Linked DNA regions of Homo sapiens: region 2 is linked to region 1. Evidence: promoter capture Hi-C in 16 types of primary human blood cells and fetal thymus (Javierre and others, 2016). All regions are on one chromosome and are shown on one strand. The core of a region is centred on a gene start or on the middle of the fragment in contact, and the rest is flanking DNA. Distances in the headings are between cores, read along the strand shown.

Region 1 (3,466 bases), core at 337-2,836:
CTTTCTGTTGCCAGGCTGAACTGCAGTGGCGCGATCTCAGCTCACTGCAACCTCCGCCTCCCGGGTTCACTCCATTCTCCTGCCTCAGCCTCCTGAGTAGCTGGGACTGACTAAAGGTGCGCGCCACCACACCCAGCTAATTTTTGTATTTTTAGTAGAGACAGGGTTTCACCATGTTGGCCAGGATGGTCTTGATCTCTTGACCTCGTGATCCGCCCGCCTCAGCCTCCCAATGTGCTGGGATTACAGGCATGAGCCACCCGGGTACCTTGCCTAAACAAAGGAGAGTAGTCCAAGGGAACTGTGAAAGGCCCCTGCATGAGAGGAAGGGAGGGTTTGTTGTGTGTGTGTGGTTTTTGTTTTATTTTGGTAGGGTTTGGGTTCCTAATTACTCTACAAGGTGCACCAGAATTGGAGATATTTGTCCAAATTCATAAATTTTGAAAGAGAAAAAGAAATACATTCAGAGTACTATTATTCCCATTTCAAGATTGAAGAAATTCAGATTAAATTATTCTAATTTCGTGAGGAAGCTAGCATTTGAACTCAGTTCTCACGCCATATTCCAAATTGCCACACCAGATATCTGGCAGATTTAGGGAAGAGGAAAAAATTAAGCATCAATCTACCTGTGGCACCGTGTAATACCATTCTCAGGATTTTAACTTCTAACTTACTCTCTTTGAAACAGCGATCACAAAGGAATAGACAAGGGGACCACAAATCATTAAAACTGCTGTCAAACAAAATAGAGAACATTTTTCCTAAAAGTTATTTGTGTAGCGAATAACAAGTTTGACGTTCTCACTGGAAGGAAGAATATGAATAAATGAACGAGCTCCAGTAAGAAGTCTACAACCTGTCTTAGTGGTTCACTAAACTCACGTTTATTGAATGATTGTGTGGTTTCTCTGCAAAGAGCAGTTTTGGACGAAAAGACCCGAGGTTATTTACAAAACAAGAAGCTCACATAGGAACTGATCCAGTAAGGAGGATCCCGAAGAGAGACAGACAAATCATTTTTTGCATTGTTTTGTTGGAAACGCCGGGCACTGCCAACAGTGTTTTACATCACTGTTCCTCAAATTTTAATGTGCATTTGATTCCTGGAAATCTTGTTAAAATATAAGTTTTGATTCCATAAGTCTGGTGTGGAGCTGAGACCCTGAATTTCTAAAAAGCTCCCCAAAGATACCCACACTGTCAGTAGGGGTGGGAGTGGCGGAGCCGACTACAGGGGAAAGCTTCACTTTGAGTGATCGAGAGGCTCTACGCAACTGGAAAGAAGAAACTCAAAATCCCTCGTACAGAGAGAGACTCACCAGCCCCCGACCCCCGGGCAGCAGTAAAGCGAGCTGGGCACTGCGCCTAGAATCCCAGTTCTTACCCCAGGATCAGAAGCGCGCTCTGCAGCTGTCCCCGCACCTCCAGAAACACGCGCGTCTCCGCCGCAGAAGCCGCCATGGCAGGCTTCCAGTCCCAGACCGGACCAAGCTGGAGGTTCCGAGGGGCCCGGGTCAACAGGACCAGGAGAGGTTCCACGTGCGGACCAACCAGCGGCAGCCCCGCTGCGGCGCAGGCGCCTGTGCCAGATCGCAGGGCTGGCGCCGCCTACCAGCTCACAGCGCCACCTGCCGGCCGGAGAGTGCACCACCGAGAAGGCGCGTGACCCCGGAGGCCGGGGCGGGGCGCGCATTTTCAAAACCAGGCTTTGGCCCAGAGTGCTGAGAAAGGTGGGCGGCGAGAGGCTAGCTATCGCCCCACTCTGCTTCTTATGAGCGTGACTTGGCGCGTTAGCATCCCTGGAAATGACCATAAAAATCAGACCCAGGGTTCACACCTTTGGCTAGCTCGAAGGGAGGGAGATGATGGAGGCAAGTGTTACAGGTGGGCTTTGTCCCCAGGAGATGCAAGAACAGAATTCCCGGCCCCAAACCCACTTTATCTTGGTCTCTTTATGAACAAGGGTCGTTTGTTAGCCTCTATCTAAAGCGACAAAATTTTCAAGAATTGACTTGCCATTGCTTCTCAACTTAGACAGGATAGCTCCAAAATTGAAACAGGTGCAAAAATATAAGGAAGTTCTTTGTTACCTAATGCAGAAGAGTGTGGCTGAAGTCTATCAGGACTAACCATTTTTTAGGGGGTAAAAAAGGAAGATGAGAATGATTACGTATGTACAGCTCCACTATTCACTTTCACAAAAGTAAAAACTAAGAGAAGTTGGAGAAGTTTACTACCAGAAGATAGTTTTGAAAAGTTTGACACAGTAAAGAACCTGGTATAATGTAAATACTTATAATGAAGAACTATTAAAATATAAGACCGGGTAGAATTACAATAGGGCTTCTTAAAAACAAGGAGCTGCTTTTATTTATTTATTTTTTTTCGGAGTCTCGCTCTGTCGCCAAGGCTGGAGTGCAGTGGCGCGATCTCGGCTCACTGCAACCTCTGCCTCCTGGGTTCAAGCGATTCTCCTGCTTCAGCCTCCCGAGTAGCTGGGATTACAGGCGCACGCGCCACCATGCCCGGCTAATTTTTCTGTTTTTGGTAGATCCGCCCACCTTGGCCTCCCAAAGTGCTGAGATTACAGGTGTGAGCCACCATGCCCAGCCTAAACCATAAATAAATTCTAAATAAATAAATCCTGTCATATATTTTAAGATAATAGCTTGACAATTTTTCTAAAATCAGTATTTGGGGTGATTAAAGTTTATTATGTTGATGCACAAATTATTATATCTATCACAATAATTTGAAGTTATAGATGGAAGCAACAACTCACTTAAAAAAATAAAGTTTACTATTATTTGGTCTCAAATAATTCATCTATTTGAAGGATGATGATTTCAACTCTTCATATCTTCCACCTTTAGTACCCGAGGCTATTGAATGCTTAAATATTGACACATTATATTGAAATATACAACTTCCGTAGCACAACTTACTCTTTATAATTGTTTTGTTAGCTTAAAAGATTTTTATATATTTAGTTACGTATTTGTAAAAACTTTCATTTTTTTACGGTATGGTGTTGGCAAAACGGTGCAATTTACCTTGGAGTAACTAGATATGATTGATAGAGCTCTAGACTCAAAATAGTTCCAAATCTGACACCAACTACTTGTCTCCTAACTTCACAAGTCTCCTAACCTCTCTGGGATGCAGGTTACTCATATGAAATATTGAGAAACTATTCAAATAATATTTAAAAGCTGTTTTCAGTTCCTATTATCTCTTCAAATGAAAACATCTGCTAACCCCCTTTCTAGCCACTCCTGAAATTGGTAGCCATGGCCGCTTCCCGCGACAGTCCACTTGAGGGCGCTGTGGCAACAGCTAGCGCCGGGAGGCAGGAAGCCGATCGGGGGCGGGGATCGAAGGCCTCAGACGTCGACGCCGGCGTGGGCGCGAGCACGGTGCACTCTGGGAGCTGTCACTAGGCCCTTCGGCTCCCGGTCTCGGT
Region 2 (3,521 bases), core at 694-3,193, 9.5 Mb before region 1:
TTACTAAGTTTGGAACTTCATCTCAAAAGAAAAAAAACCATGAAGATAACACAATGCTAAAATGTGGCCTGTCAGTGTAAACTGTCAACATTCTCCACTATAAAGAACTGAAACTGGGTTGAGGTTAGTAGGTCTGAACAAATCGTGTCCCACTAAGAGCACATGGGTTCTTCCTTGAGTCACTGCCGAGGCCCTGGCACATCTGAGATTTAAAAGATAAATATCAGATTAACTGGGAAAGATACAGTACAGGCAGATCACTTGAGCCCAGGAGTTGACCAGCCTTGGCAACATGGCAAAATACAAAAATTAGCCAGGCGTGGTGGCAAAAACCTGTGGTCCCTGCTATTCAGGGAAGATCACTTAAGCCCAGAAGTCAGGACTGCAGTTAGCCGTTAACTTCCACTCCAACCAGGGCAGGAGTAAAACCCTGTCTAAACAAAAAAAGCCAAGCACTACCTTGAAATCAACTGAAGTTAGCTCTCACTTTTGAAATCCACTCCAAAATTTGTAACCAATTCCAACATAGTAACTGTTAAAAGAAATGCCACTTCATCTTAAAGCTTAAAATTCATTTATTGTAGTGAGCAAGTTTGTAATGAATACCAGCAGGTGGTGCTCAAGCCACAGTTGTCTAAGACACTGGGTTTCACAGGAAGTTAATCTCAATCTCAGTATATGCAAGTAAACTGACTCATTCCTGCTTCCAGTGGGAACAATTTTTCAGTTAAATCTTGCTTCCTTGCATGTCAAGAATTCTCTACTGGTAAATCTTACAGGTGTCAACTTTCATTATCAGGGCATCTATTGGCCATCTATTAAAGGCCTTACCTGTTTTTTCTGTCATCCAGCAAATCTTAGACTATTTACTTGTGTAAACATTAGATAGCAAAGAAACTAAGGACAAAAATCTCTAGTTCAATTTAGACTTGATACCTCAGAGCACTGGCTGATGGGAAGGCATTTTATCTAATTCAGACTCAGATGAGGGAAAACGATAACACTTCATTACAGACTTGTCTATGGCCAATTCAAGTACCTTTGAATCTTGAGCAATACACATTGCCAGTCACTTTAAGAGGCCTTATCTCTTGGGCTGCTTTAACTCCTGCTTAGCATGTCCTTAAGAACACATGTCCTGGCCAGGCATGGTGGCTCATGCCTGTAATTCCAGCACTTTAGGAGGCCGAGGCGATCACCTAAGGTCAGGAGTTTGAGACCAGCCTGACCAACATGGAAAAACCTCATCTCTATTAAAAACACCAAATTAGCACATGCCTGTAATCCCAGCTACTTGGGAGGCTGAAGTAGGAGAATTGCTTGAACCCAGGAGGAGGAGATTGCAGTGAGATTTTGCCATTGCATTCTAGCCTGGGCAACAAGAACTCCATCTTAAAAAAAATTTTTAAAAACCATCACACAAACAGAAAGCATGTCCTTTAATTTTACCTATCCTTCAAACTTAAGCAAAAATTTTCCTTTTATAACCAAAAAAAAACCTTTAGACACTTTTACATATGGGAGGTCAGGCACAGTGGCTCATGCCTGTAATCCCAGCAGGAAGATCGCGAAAAGCATTTTTCAAATGCACAAATGCTTAAAGATTCAGGAGTAAGTGGGCTATTACACCTGTTAAGCCTATTACCATGTAGTTTCATTCCTAGTGACCAAGTAGACAAACTGCTAATTATCAAAGCATAAAAGGTATTAGACTCTGCAGGAGAAAAGCAATGTAGATTAGTCTAATTTTATAGCTACTTCAAATTGCCATCTTTTTCTATTAGAACCTTGTTCCTATTCTGAATAGCACTCAATAGAACTTGTGAAACCATCAAACTGGCATAAAGCTTACTCCACTGACTTCAAAATGGACCCTTCCACTCATAGGGTGTACACTAGCCACTACACTTATTTCTTATGTCATGGCAAATAGTCAACTTTCACTGCCCAGTCATTTTAACCCACGTTTCAACATGCACATCCCAGTAATTTGGAAACATTTTGTTTCCAAAGATTCACTTAACATTGGTTTAGCAACATGAAGCTTTCTATGCAACACAAGGACTCAGTTTTTGGCCTGTTTTAGTGACAGGCAATCAGCAACATGCTGCATTTCTCTCCAGTGTTGTAATCAAAGCAACCCTCCCATAGCTTTAAATGATATTCCTTCCCCTTCCAATTATGTGGGGGGAAAACAACCCTATTCTCCACCCAGAAGTGTTAACTCAAGAATTACATTTTCAAGAAGTTTCCAGATTCGTAAAACCAGAATTAGATGTCTTTCACCTAAATGTCTCGGTGTTGACCAAAGGAACACACAGGTTTCTCATTTAACTTTTTTAATGGGTCTCAAAATTCTGTGACAAATTTTTGGTCAAGTTGTTTCCATTAAAAAGTACTGATTTTAAAAACTAATAACTTAAAACTGCCACACGCAAAAAAGAAAACCAAAGTGGTCCACAAAACATTCTCCTTTCCTTCTGAAGGTTTTACGATGCATTGTTATCATTAACCAGTCTTTTACTACTAAACTTAAATGGCCAATTGAAACAAACAGTTCTGAGACCGTTCTTCCACCACTGATTAAGAGTGGGGTGGCAGGTATTAGGGATAATATTCATTTAGCCTTCTGAGCTTTCTGGGCAGACTTGGTGACCTTGCCAGCTCCAGCAGCCTTCTTGTCCACTGCTTTGATGACACCCACCGCAACTGTCTGTCTCATATCACGAACAGCAAAGCGACCTATTAAAAAAAAAGTTAATTATTACCCAAAGTACTGTTCAGTTGTATTTTTCATCTTTAACACAACTTTTTTACATTTAAGTAGTCATCCTTACCCAAAGGTGGATAGTCTGAGAAGCTCTCAACACACATGGGCTTGCCAGGAACCATATCAACAATGGCAGCATCACCAGACTTCAAGAATTTAGGGCCATCTTCCAGCTTTTTACCAGAACGGCGATCAATCTTTTCCTTCAGCTCAGCAAACTTGCATGCAATGTGAGCCGTGTGGCAATCCAATACAGGGGCATAGCCGGCGCTTATTTGGCCTGGATGGTTCAGGATAATCACCTTGGAAAAAAGATTTGCATTCAGTGCAAATCCAAAGTCTCAAATGACTTTAGCCTCTGCAATAAGTTAATGTTACTTTAAATTGTTACCTGAGCAGTGAAGCCAGCTGCTTCCATTGGTGGGTCATTTTTGCTGTCACCAGCAACGTTGCCACGACGAACATCCTTGACAGACACATTCTTGACATTGAAGCCCACATTGTCCCCAGGAAGAGCTTCACTCAAAGCTTCATGGTGCATTTCGACAGATTTTACTTCCGTTGTAACGTTGACTGGAGCAAAGGTGACCACCATACCGGGTTTGAGAACACCAGTCTCCACTCGGCCAACAGGAACAGTACCAATACCTAAAAATATTTACAGCATACTAAATACCTATGAAGGCAGACAGTACTCTATCAACTCAAATTCAACTTTGTTTACAGCCAACTTACCACCAATTTTGTAGAC

The links. Contacts are between HindIII fragments. The CHiCAGO score rates a contact against its expected background, and 5 or more counts as called.
Region 2: a fragment that was not itself captured here is called in contact with the fragment with the promoter of UBE3D in region 1 in 1 of 17 cell types (total CD4 T cells); the score reaches 6.1 in total CD4 T cells.

Annotation. Positions count from the first base shown.
Region 1 is chr6:83,064,255-83,067,720 of GRCh38, forward strand. UBE3D (ubiquitin protein ligase E3D) reads right to left here and starts at 1,587. Exons shown (of 10, transcript NM_198920.3): 1 at 1,388-1,587. The coding sequence starts at 1,464. It overlaps DOP1A (DOP1 leucine zipper like protein A), which reads left to right and starts at 3,417. Exons shown (of 39, transcript NM_015018.4): 1 at 3,417-3,466. RefSeq lists enhancers at 3,226-3,295, 3,326-3,466. The HindIII fragment of the contact is 10,412 bases long and covers 1,243-3,466 here.
Region 2 is chr6:73,515,193-73,518,713 of GRCh38, forward strand. EEF1A1 (eukaryotic translation elongation factor 1 alpha 1) reads right to left here. Exons shown (of 8, transcript NM_001402.6): 5 at 3,506-3,521; 6 at 3,162-3,418; 7 at 2,838-3,072; 8 at 558-2,742. The coding sequence ends at 2,618. Among named protein-coding and RNA genes, the nearest start is that of EEF1A1, 4.1 kb to the right of the region's middle. RefSeq lists a silencer at 134-428. The HindIII fragment of the contact is 197 bases long and covers 1,846-2,042 here.